Regions from separate parts of the Homo sapiens genome. Here regions 1 and 3 are each linked to region 2. Evidence: promoter capture Hi-C in 16 types of primary human blood cells and fetal thymus (Javierre and others, 2016). All regions are on one chromosome and are shown on one strand. Each heading gives the region's core, a stretch centred on a gene start or on the middle of the fragment in contact. The rest is flanking DNA. Distances are from core to core; before and after follow the strand shown. Region 1 overlaps LOC105371589 (a long non-coding RNA gene). Region 2 holds the start of TMEM11 (transmembrane protein 11). Region 3 overlaps LINC02693 (long intergenic non-protein coding RNA 2693).

Region 1 (2,747 bases), core at 42-2,541, 310 kb before region 2:
CAAGGAGTCCTGAGGGTCCAAGTAACTTGCAGAGATTGCTGTGCTGCCAGGAGCGAGTGAAAGAAGAGGCGAGAGCAGCTGCCTCAGCTAAAAAGAAAGCCAGAGGAGAGGGTGGGTATTTAGGGAGCGGGGATTTTTAATTTCAAGTGAATTCTGTAATTAAGGACAAGGGGTGGTGGTGGTGGGGCTCGGGGCTGGGTGCTCTGGCACTGTCCCTAACCGCAATCACAGTGATGGCTTTGCTCCTGTGCTGCCGTCCCTCCTCCCTCTCAGCAATAGGAAGAACGTGTGTGCTTTGATGCACGTGGTGCAGCAGGCCTGGAATGCCACATTTCACACAAACTTCAGGTGACCCCAGTGCTGCTGATGCATGGACCACGCTGTGAGTAGCAAGGTCACAAACTCCCTTGAGGGAGGGGAGTAGCTGGGCTGGGTTTCTGAGAGACCCTATTACGATTGGACTACTTTGGGCCTCCCTTCTTGAGAACCCAAAACAGCTGCTGGGTGTGCTGAAGCCATATTCACCCCACCACAAAGAGGACAGTCAGCACCTTTCTCCACACAACGGTATAAGGTTTTGTTTTCATATAAAACCTCAACAGATGAATGGGGCCATTATCAATCATTTTCAGAAAGAAAGGCTCAAATACCAACTATTTATTTTTTATGGAGTCTTGCTCTGTCACCCAGGCTGGAGTGCAGTGGCACGATCTCCACTCACTGCAACTTCTGACTCCCGGGTTCAAGCAATCCACTCGCCTCAGCCTCCCAAGTAGCTGGGACTACAGGTGTGTGCCACGCCTGGCTAATTTTTGTACTTTTAGTAGAGATGGGTTTCACCATGTTGCCCAGGCTGGTCTCGAACTACCCTGACCTGAAGTGATCCACCTGCCTCTGCCTCCCAAAGTGCTGGGATTACAGGTGTGAGCCACTGTACCCAGCCCCCAAATACCAACTATTCTTTTAAAAAAATTATGAGTATGTTGGAGGCACAGTGGCTCATGCTGTAATTTCAATACTTTGGGAGGCCAAGGCAGGCAAATTGCTTGAGCCCTAGTGTTGGAGACCAGCCTGGGAAACATGGCGAAACCCTGCCTCTACAAAAAGTTTTTAAAAAATTAGCCGGGCATAATGGCATTCATCTATAGTCCCAGCTACTCAGGAAGCTGAGGTGGGAGGATTGCTTGAGCCCAGGAGGTTGAGGCTGCAGTGAGCTGTGATGGCACCACTGCACTCCAGCCTGGGTGACAGAGTGAGACCCTGTCTCAAAAAAAAAAAATATATATATATATATATATAATATATTTATTATATATATTTATTTATTATATATTATATATGTATATATTTATTATATATATATATATTATGTTGGGAGAGATGTCCCTCATAATTAAACTAGGTTAATACAGATGATTTTATTTAACAGCTGAAATGGTTCTGTTACCTGGGAGCTTGTTTTATATTTAGTTGATCTTGGAGGATCCATCATGAACCGCCCTAGAAGCGCCCACAGTTACATGTTCCATGAGTGCTTGATGGAAAACCATGTATTTCTGAGGCTCTGGTGGCAGGTAGCAGTTATGCAATGGCATGAGGAAAATCCATTTAGTAGAGTTGTCCAAAAGTGCAATGGCCTGGCTCGGTAAGCTGTAAATTCTCTGTCCCTGTGAGGGGTAGAAAGTGAGGATGGAGAAGGAAGGAATATGCCAGACAGGGGTTGAACCAGATGGGCTTCTTCCAGCTGTCAGCTTCGTGACTACGGGTACTGTCCATGTCTCCAGGATCCACCTGGGATGCCTCTGATAATGTAACCACGTACCCCCATTTTTCTTAGGCAGTTTATTCCAACAAGTGAGCTATGGTGCAGGCATTGGGCCATGCGGTATCTGTTTGACTTTCAGGGCCTTAGGTCAGCTTGGTGGAGTTCTCTGGGTCCCTCTAGAGAATCATCCAACCCAGGGATGGCCTGCAGGGTCCCGCCCCACCACTAAAGCACTTACATTCACACAAAATCCTGGAGCTGAATGTTCTCAGCAGGCTTATTCCTCATAGCCAAAAGCTAGAAACAAATCCAGAGGTTCTTTGAGGAGCGAGTGGTGAAACAGTTGGGGTCATTGTGGAAATGGAGGGAAGCCTTTGGAGAGATGTATAGGAAGAACGAACAGGACTCGGTAATGGATTATTCATGACATGGGGGGATACAGGCTGAAGAAACTCTCCTAGAGTCTGGATTGGGGTCCCTAGGTGAGCCGTCACACCATTTATTTAGACAGTAAGTCTGGGTCACAGCCAAGTCAAGGAAGATGACCTGGACAATAGAGTGGGATCAGTTTTAATCTGTAATGTCAAAGAGGCATTTCAGTCTGGAAATCAGCTAGGCAGCTGTACATATAATTCTGAGTGGAGATAAAATCTGGAGGTTGTAAGAATAGAGTTAATAATTAATGCTTTAAATATCAATTTGGTCACCCAGAGAGCTTGGGGTTCTTTTTTTCTGGCATACCAATAAAAGAATAACAGAGTCCAGGGGTGAGTTATGACGCACTTCAGATTTTAAATCCCAAGCAAGGGTTGTGAGCGCGCTGGCAAACCTTGGGGAGGAGCACAAGAAATGCAGGAGGAGAAGGAGAAGCATCGGCGTCAAGAGCCAGGAGCGAGATGGACCCCAGAAACAAAAGGAGCCACTTACCTGGACTGCTCCTGGGATGTGGTAATGGAAAGTGGCCATTAGATTTTCCATCATG
Region 2 (2,954 bases), core at 422-2,921:
GCTGGGTGTGGTGGCACCACCTGTAATCCCAGGTACTCAGGAGGCTGAGGTAGGAGAATTGCTTGAACCTGGGAGGCGGAGGTTGCAGTGAGCCAAGATCGCACCACTGCACTCAAGCCTGGGCGACAGAGCAAGACTCTGTCTCAAAAAAAAAAAAAAAAGTTGGCTGGGAGGTAAAAGCATTTTAGGTAAAGCATAGAACATCTACGTATCTGCAAACCCTCTGAATTTACTAGCCTGGCAAGTTCCAGACGGGAAAGGTAGGCAGTTGAATTTGGAGAGCTAGGCAACTTCCAAACTAAGGAGGGGCTTCTTGATTGTGCTAAGGAATTTGAATCACACACTGTAGGTGATGAGGGACGGTGAGAGGATTGCAAGCAGCTAAAACTGTGGTAGAATGTCAGCTGGAAGGAAATCGAAAGGAATCCTCAACAAGGAGAGGGTCGCCTTTCCGTCTGCTGGCCCTCCTGCTGTGGCCTGCGGCGGGGTGGGAAGGGGGGTTCCACTACACAGAAGTGTGACGCGCAGGGCTGGGCTTCTTCTAGGCTGAATTCGGGACAGATTTTCGCATTTGTTTTGCTCAAGTATTTATGGGACCAATTAATATGTTTAGCAACGTTGTCTGTGGGAGCAGTAGAGGAACTGAGAAGTTCACAAACTGTAAGAGATCCTCCAAAGAGTCCACAGGTCTGAGGCAGCAGCACCTGGGAATCTCTGGGCTCCAGTTAGTCCTTCCTGACTTTGACTCGTTACAGCAGTGTCCAGACAGGGATATGTCGGGTCCTGTGGCAGGGTTCCCGTCAGGTGGGATGGTTTAGCCCCGCATCTGCCTTCAAAGATCCCGAGATTATGCCGTCGCAGCGGCCAGGGCAGGAGTGGGTGCGTGGCAGGGACTGAGTCTAAGAGGCCTGGAGGCCCTGTCTAAAACAGAGCTGTCGCTGGGCCCTCTCGCCTTCAAGCAGTTATCATACAGCTATTCCCCTTTCTTGTTTTCAGACCCTCTCCTCTAACAGCCTGCACCTGCAAGCAGGGACCTCCGTGGCAGCAGGGACAGCGTGTCTGTCTCGGCCTCCAAAGTACCCCGGAGTCTAAGAGAACTGGGGGAGGATGGTGCGGGAGCAGCGCCCGCCTCCAAGGAGGGCCCGGGCGGCGCCTCCCGCCCCTCGGTGACCTTATGGGCCAAGGCTGTGAAGGGCAGGCGTGGCGACGCGGAGGGGCCCGGCGCTAGTAGCCCGCAGACAGCGCGGCGGCCCCCAGCGGGAGAGGCAGCCTGGCGGCCAGGACAGCGCGGCCGGGCGCCTCCGCGCAGTGCTCTGGGAGTTGTAGGCACTTGCCTCTCCTCTCTCCTTCAGCTACTGGCTCTCGAAACTCAAGGACCTACCGGTGGGTGGGCGCCTGTGACTCCCAGGCTGCGAACGCCGGGAACTCAGTTTCTTCAGAAATGCTCGAACCAGGACGGCTCCTGGAGTCCTCGCGCCCTCGCAGAAGGACTACGGGCCCCGGCGACCCCGGGGGCGGGGCTTCCGGCGCGCTGCCTTGTGGGCACGGTAGTTCCGCCGGGTCTGGCTTCCGCCTGCCGAGCGGCCCCGGACCGCAGGCCGGACTACACTTCCCGTCGGCCCGCCTGCTCTCCCGATGCCGCCTTGGCGCGAGACGTTGGCAAGCAGAGTGTCTCCAAGATGGCCGCTTGGGGAAGGAGGCGTCTTGGCCCGGGCAGCAGTGGCGGCAGCGCCCGAGAGAGGTGAGATCCAAGGGCTTGTTGCCCCCAGTGCAGGCGGCTCAGCGGCCGGAGAGCCCAGCGCGGCCTCCGAGGGCTGCAGCAGCCTTCCTTCCCTGGTTTCCCCGCGCTCCCCCTACCCTCGCCGGGCATACTGGGTTCCAGTTCCGGAGGATCCGGGATCCGGGTGGGAGCGAGGTCGAAGGCCTCGGCGGAGAGCTTAGGGGAAGGGGCGTTAGCCGGGCTGAGTAAGGTAGGCAGCGGCCATGCGGGGCGGGGCCCGAGGCCGGGCCGTGCTGAAAGGAACTGGCGCCCAGCGCAGGCCTCAGGGACCCGCCTAGCTGCCCGCGGGCCGATCGGCTGCTGAAGCACCCTTCCCGCCTGGGCACGCGCGTGGCCATCTCGGCCGCGGCCCCAGACGTGTAGAGGAAGGCAGGGCCCCCGGAGAGAGAAAGAAGGGGAAGCCTTCACAGAGCAGGCCGGCCGCGGCAGGGGTAGTTTGATCTGCACGTTTACTAGGGAGCTTTAGCTCCCGCCAGATGTGTCTCTTCCGAGCCCAGAGCCGGCCACTTCCTCGAGGGAAGATTCTGAAGACTTTTGGATGGTTCTGTGCAAGCGCTCCTGCCGTAGAAGTCCTTTAAAGTGACCTTTCCTAATGAATGGTGTGTGGGCAGGGAGCTAGGAGCGTGTTTCTTCCAACAGGGACCTCCATTTGAATAACTGATTTCTAGAAGATGAGATTGGAGTAGTTTCCGTGTTTCATGTTCAAGTTGCAGTTTTTGCATCTGGGAAGCAGTTTCAGCTAGTGGAAACCACTAGAAGCTGTTCAGCCACTAGAAATTTGGGAGAAGATGTATTGGTGGAGCCACCTGGATTAACTGTCCGCTAAAGCTTGATTGTTATAGCAGCGGTCAGCAAAAAAGGAAAAGTTTTTGTTTTGCTGGTTCTCCCCCTCCCCGTCTTTTTGGTGAGGATTGTCTAACAGAAAAGTTATCTTCCTCTCAACTACTCTGCATTATTCCTTTTCTGTGACTGATTCCATCCCGTGTTCATTGCTATTGCTTGCAGATGGCTTTCCCAGCTGGGAAGATTCTTCCTGTTTGGCAGTTGTGATAGAATCCTTTAGCTTGCTTGCACTTTATTCTTTAGCCCAGTTATCCAGCGTTGCCCATTCTGCATTTCCTCTTCCTTGGAAAAGCAGTGGTAAACACACTTTTGTTTTTCTAACTCCCGCCTG
Region 3 (2,700 bases), core at 195-2,694, 330 kb before region 2:
GCCTCCTAAGTACCTAGGACTACAAGTGCGCACCACCATGCTTGGCTAAATTTTTTAAATCTTTTGTAGAGATGGGGTCTCACTCTATTGTCCAGGCTGGTCTTGAACTCCTAGCCTCAAACAATCCTCCTGCCTCAGCCTCCCCAAGTGCTGGTATTACAGGGTAAGTTGCTGTGCCCAGCCTAATTTTTTTTTTATTTTTAAACAGCTTTATTGAGGAAAAATTCACATACCTTATGATCTGCTAGGGTTTAGTATAATCACAGATATGTGCAACCAAAACCATGGTTAAGTTTACAACATTTTTATTAGTCCTGTACCTTTTAGCTATCACCCTGTTCCCCCACCCCTACCCCAGCTGTAAGCAATCACAAATCTAGTTTCCATCTCAATAGATTTTTCTTCCCTGGGCATTTCATATAAATCAATCCATATAAGTGTTTTTTCATGTCTGGCTTCTTCACATTTGTCTCATCCAGAAGGTGCCTGAATTTTTCCACAACTGGGAATACTAAGCTGTGGGGTGAATTTTTGGTTCCCAAGTGAATGTGAATGAGGCAGATTGGAAGGAGAGTTCTTTTACTGAGGGAACGGGACAAGAACCAATGAAAGAAAGAGATCCAGCAGGAGGGGAGGGAGGAAGCGGGGTGGAGAGCTGCTTGAAGCAGATGAACAGAGCTCTGGGCCATGACAGCAGAATAGAAGGTGCCGTGCAGTGGGGTGCAGGTCCTGAGGGGGAGGGAGGGGGAATGTGGAAAACAGCAGGTCATAAACTCTGAATTCCAGCTGCTGGAGCTGTGGGTCCCAGGGGCCTGGTTATCCCCTCACAGGCAGGAGCTGGAAAGTGGGGCTCTGCTCAGGTCCAGGAAGGAAGTGGGTGCACGGGTGGTGTGGACATGTGCATGGAAGCCCACAGTGCCCACAACGTGAGGTCAGAACTTCAGGGAGAACCTGCATTTGGGCTCCAAGCTGGTTGGAAGTATTCTTTCATTCAGCAGCCTTCTCATTAAGTGCCTGCTGTGTGACAGACACTGCAGAGCACAGAGATGCAATCTTACCTGTCCCAGCCTTCCAGGCACCAGGGGTGCCACGCGCTTTCAAACAACCAGCTCTCATGTTTCATAGAGCAAGAACTCACTCACTACCACTGGGAGAGCACCAAGCCATTCCTTCCAGGGACTTGCCTGGAAGGCTGGGACATGGTTATTTTCCATCTCCCCACGGTTCATGGAACTGTATTCTGCATAGAATGGGCAAAGTACAACTATCATTGATTAGTAATTGAAGAAACAAAGATTTTACCTTCATGTTTTTTACAAAATGCAATATCTGAGATGTAGCATTCTATATCTTTGGCTTCTTTAATGTTAGCTATACAGACAAAATAGAAAATGAAAAAAAATTTTCCAATATTAAATATTCACATTGATGTCTGTATTAGTCTATTTTCTGTTGCTATAAAAGAACACCCGAGGCTGGGTAATTTATGAAGAAAAGAGATTTATTTGGCTTATGATTCTGCAGGCTGTACCAGCCTGGCACCACCATCTGTTTCTGGTGAGGACCCTAGGAAGCCTCCAGTCATGGTGGAAGGGGAAGTGGAGCAAGGAAGAAAGGAGGTGGGGTGCCACGTGCCTTCCAACAACCAGCTCTCATGTTTCATAGAGCAGGAACTCACTACCACTGGGACAGCACCAAGCCATTCCTGAAGGATCTGCCCTCAAAGACCCAAACACCTCTCACTAGGCCCCGCTTTCAACATTGGGAATCAAATTTCTTTCTTCTTTCTTTCTTTCTTTTTTTTTTGAGATGGTATTTCGCTCTGTCACCCAGGCTGGAGTGCAGTGGCATGATCTCAGCTCACTGCAAGCTCTGCCTCCCAGGTTCATGCCATTCTTCTGCCTCAGCCTCCCGAGTAGCTGGGACTACAGGTGCCCACCACCACGCCGGGCTAATTTTTTGTATTTTTAGTAGAGACGGGGTTTCACTGTGTTAACCAGGATGGTCTCGATCTCCTGACCTTGTGATCTGCCTGCCCCGGCCTCCCAAAGTGCTGGGATTACAGGCTTGCACCACCACACCCATCCTAGGCCCCATTTTCAACATTGGGAATCAAATTTCTTTCTTCTGTTTTGTTTTGTTTTGTTTTGTTTTGTTTTGTTTTGTTTTGTTTTGTTTTGTTAAAGAGATAATCTGACTCTGTCACCCAGGGTGGAGTGAAGTAGCGCAGTTATAGCTCACTATAGAAGCCATGGCTGAGCTGAGCCGTAGCTTACTGTGGCATCCAACTCCTGGAGCTCCAGAGGTCCTCCCACCTCGGCCTCCTGAGTAGCTGGGATAACAGGCTCAATCCACCATGCCCAACTAAGTTTTTAATTTTTTGTAGAGACAGGGTCTCACTAGGAGGTCAAATTTCAACATGAGATCTGGAGGGGACAAATATTCAAACTGTATCAATGTCAACAGGTTTTTTTTTCCTCATAAAAGAGTATCTATGTGTTAGGAACTTTAGATGTTCAAAAAGTGGTGGGGGGAAGAAATATATAATAAGGGACACACACTTTATAATTTCCTCACATTTTAAATTACTCCAATAACTAATACATAGATGGATTTATGGGTCTGGAATTTTTTCAGTGAGACATTTGTTTATAATTAAAATATGGATTTTATCTCCTTATTCCTTTTTAATTCAGTCCG

What was found. Contacts are between HindIII fragments. The CHiCAGO score rates a contact against its expected background, and 5 or more counts as called.
Region 1: a fragment that was not itself captured here is called in contact with the fragment with the promoter of TMEM11 in region 2 in 5 of 17 cell types (activated CD4 T cells, total B cells, neutrophils and 2 more); the score reaches 7.1 in activated CD4 T cells.
Region 3: a fragment that was not itself captured here is called in contact with the fragment with the promoter of TMEM11 in region 2 in 1 of 17 cell types (total B cells); the score reaches 5.2 in total B cells.

The regions. Positions count from the first base shown.
Region 1 is chr17:21,518,405-21,521,151 of GRCh38, reverse strand. LOC105371589 (a long non-coding RNA gene) reads right to left here. Exons shown (of 4, transcript XR_934332.3): 2 at 2,693-2,747; 3 at 1,448-1,667; 4 at 1-87. Among named protein-coding and RNA genes, the nearest start is that of LINC02693, 32 kb to the left of the region's middle. The HindIII fragment of the contact is 6,064 bases long and covers 1-2,747 here.
Region 2 is chr17:21,212,878-21,215,831 of GRCh38, reverse strand. TMEM11 (transmembrane protein 11) reads left to right here and starts at 1,671. Exons shown (of 2, transcript NM_003876.3): 1 at 1,671-1,741. The coding sequence starts at 1,680. TMEM11-DT (TMEM11 divergent transcript) reads right to left here and starts at 1,507. Exons shown (of 2, transcript NR_184102.1): 1 at 1,382-1,507. RefSeq lists enhancers at 690-899, 1,670-1,769 and silencers at 1,060-1,329, 1,450-1,589. The HindIII fragment of the contact is 13,322 bases long and covers 1-2,610 here.
Region 3 is chr17:21,544,169-21,546,868 of GRCh38, reverse strand. The region is part of intron 1 of LINC02693 (long intergenic non-protein coding RNA 2693); the gene reads left to right. Among named protein-coding and RNA genes, the nearest start is that of LINC02693, 6.2 kb to the left of the region's middle. The HindIII fragment of the contact is 3,454 bases long and covers 1-2,700 here.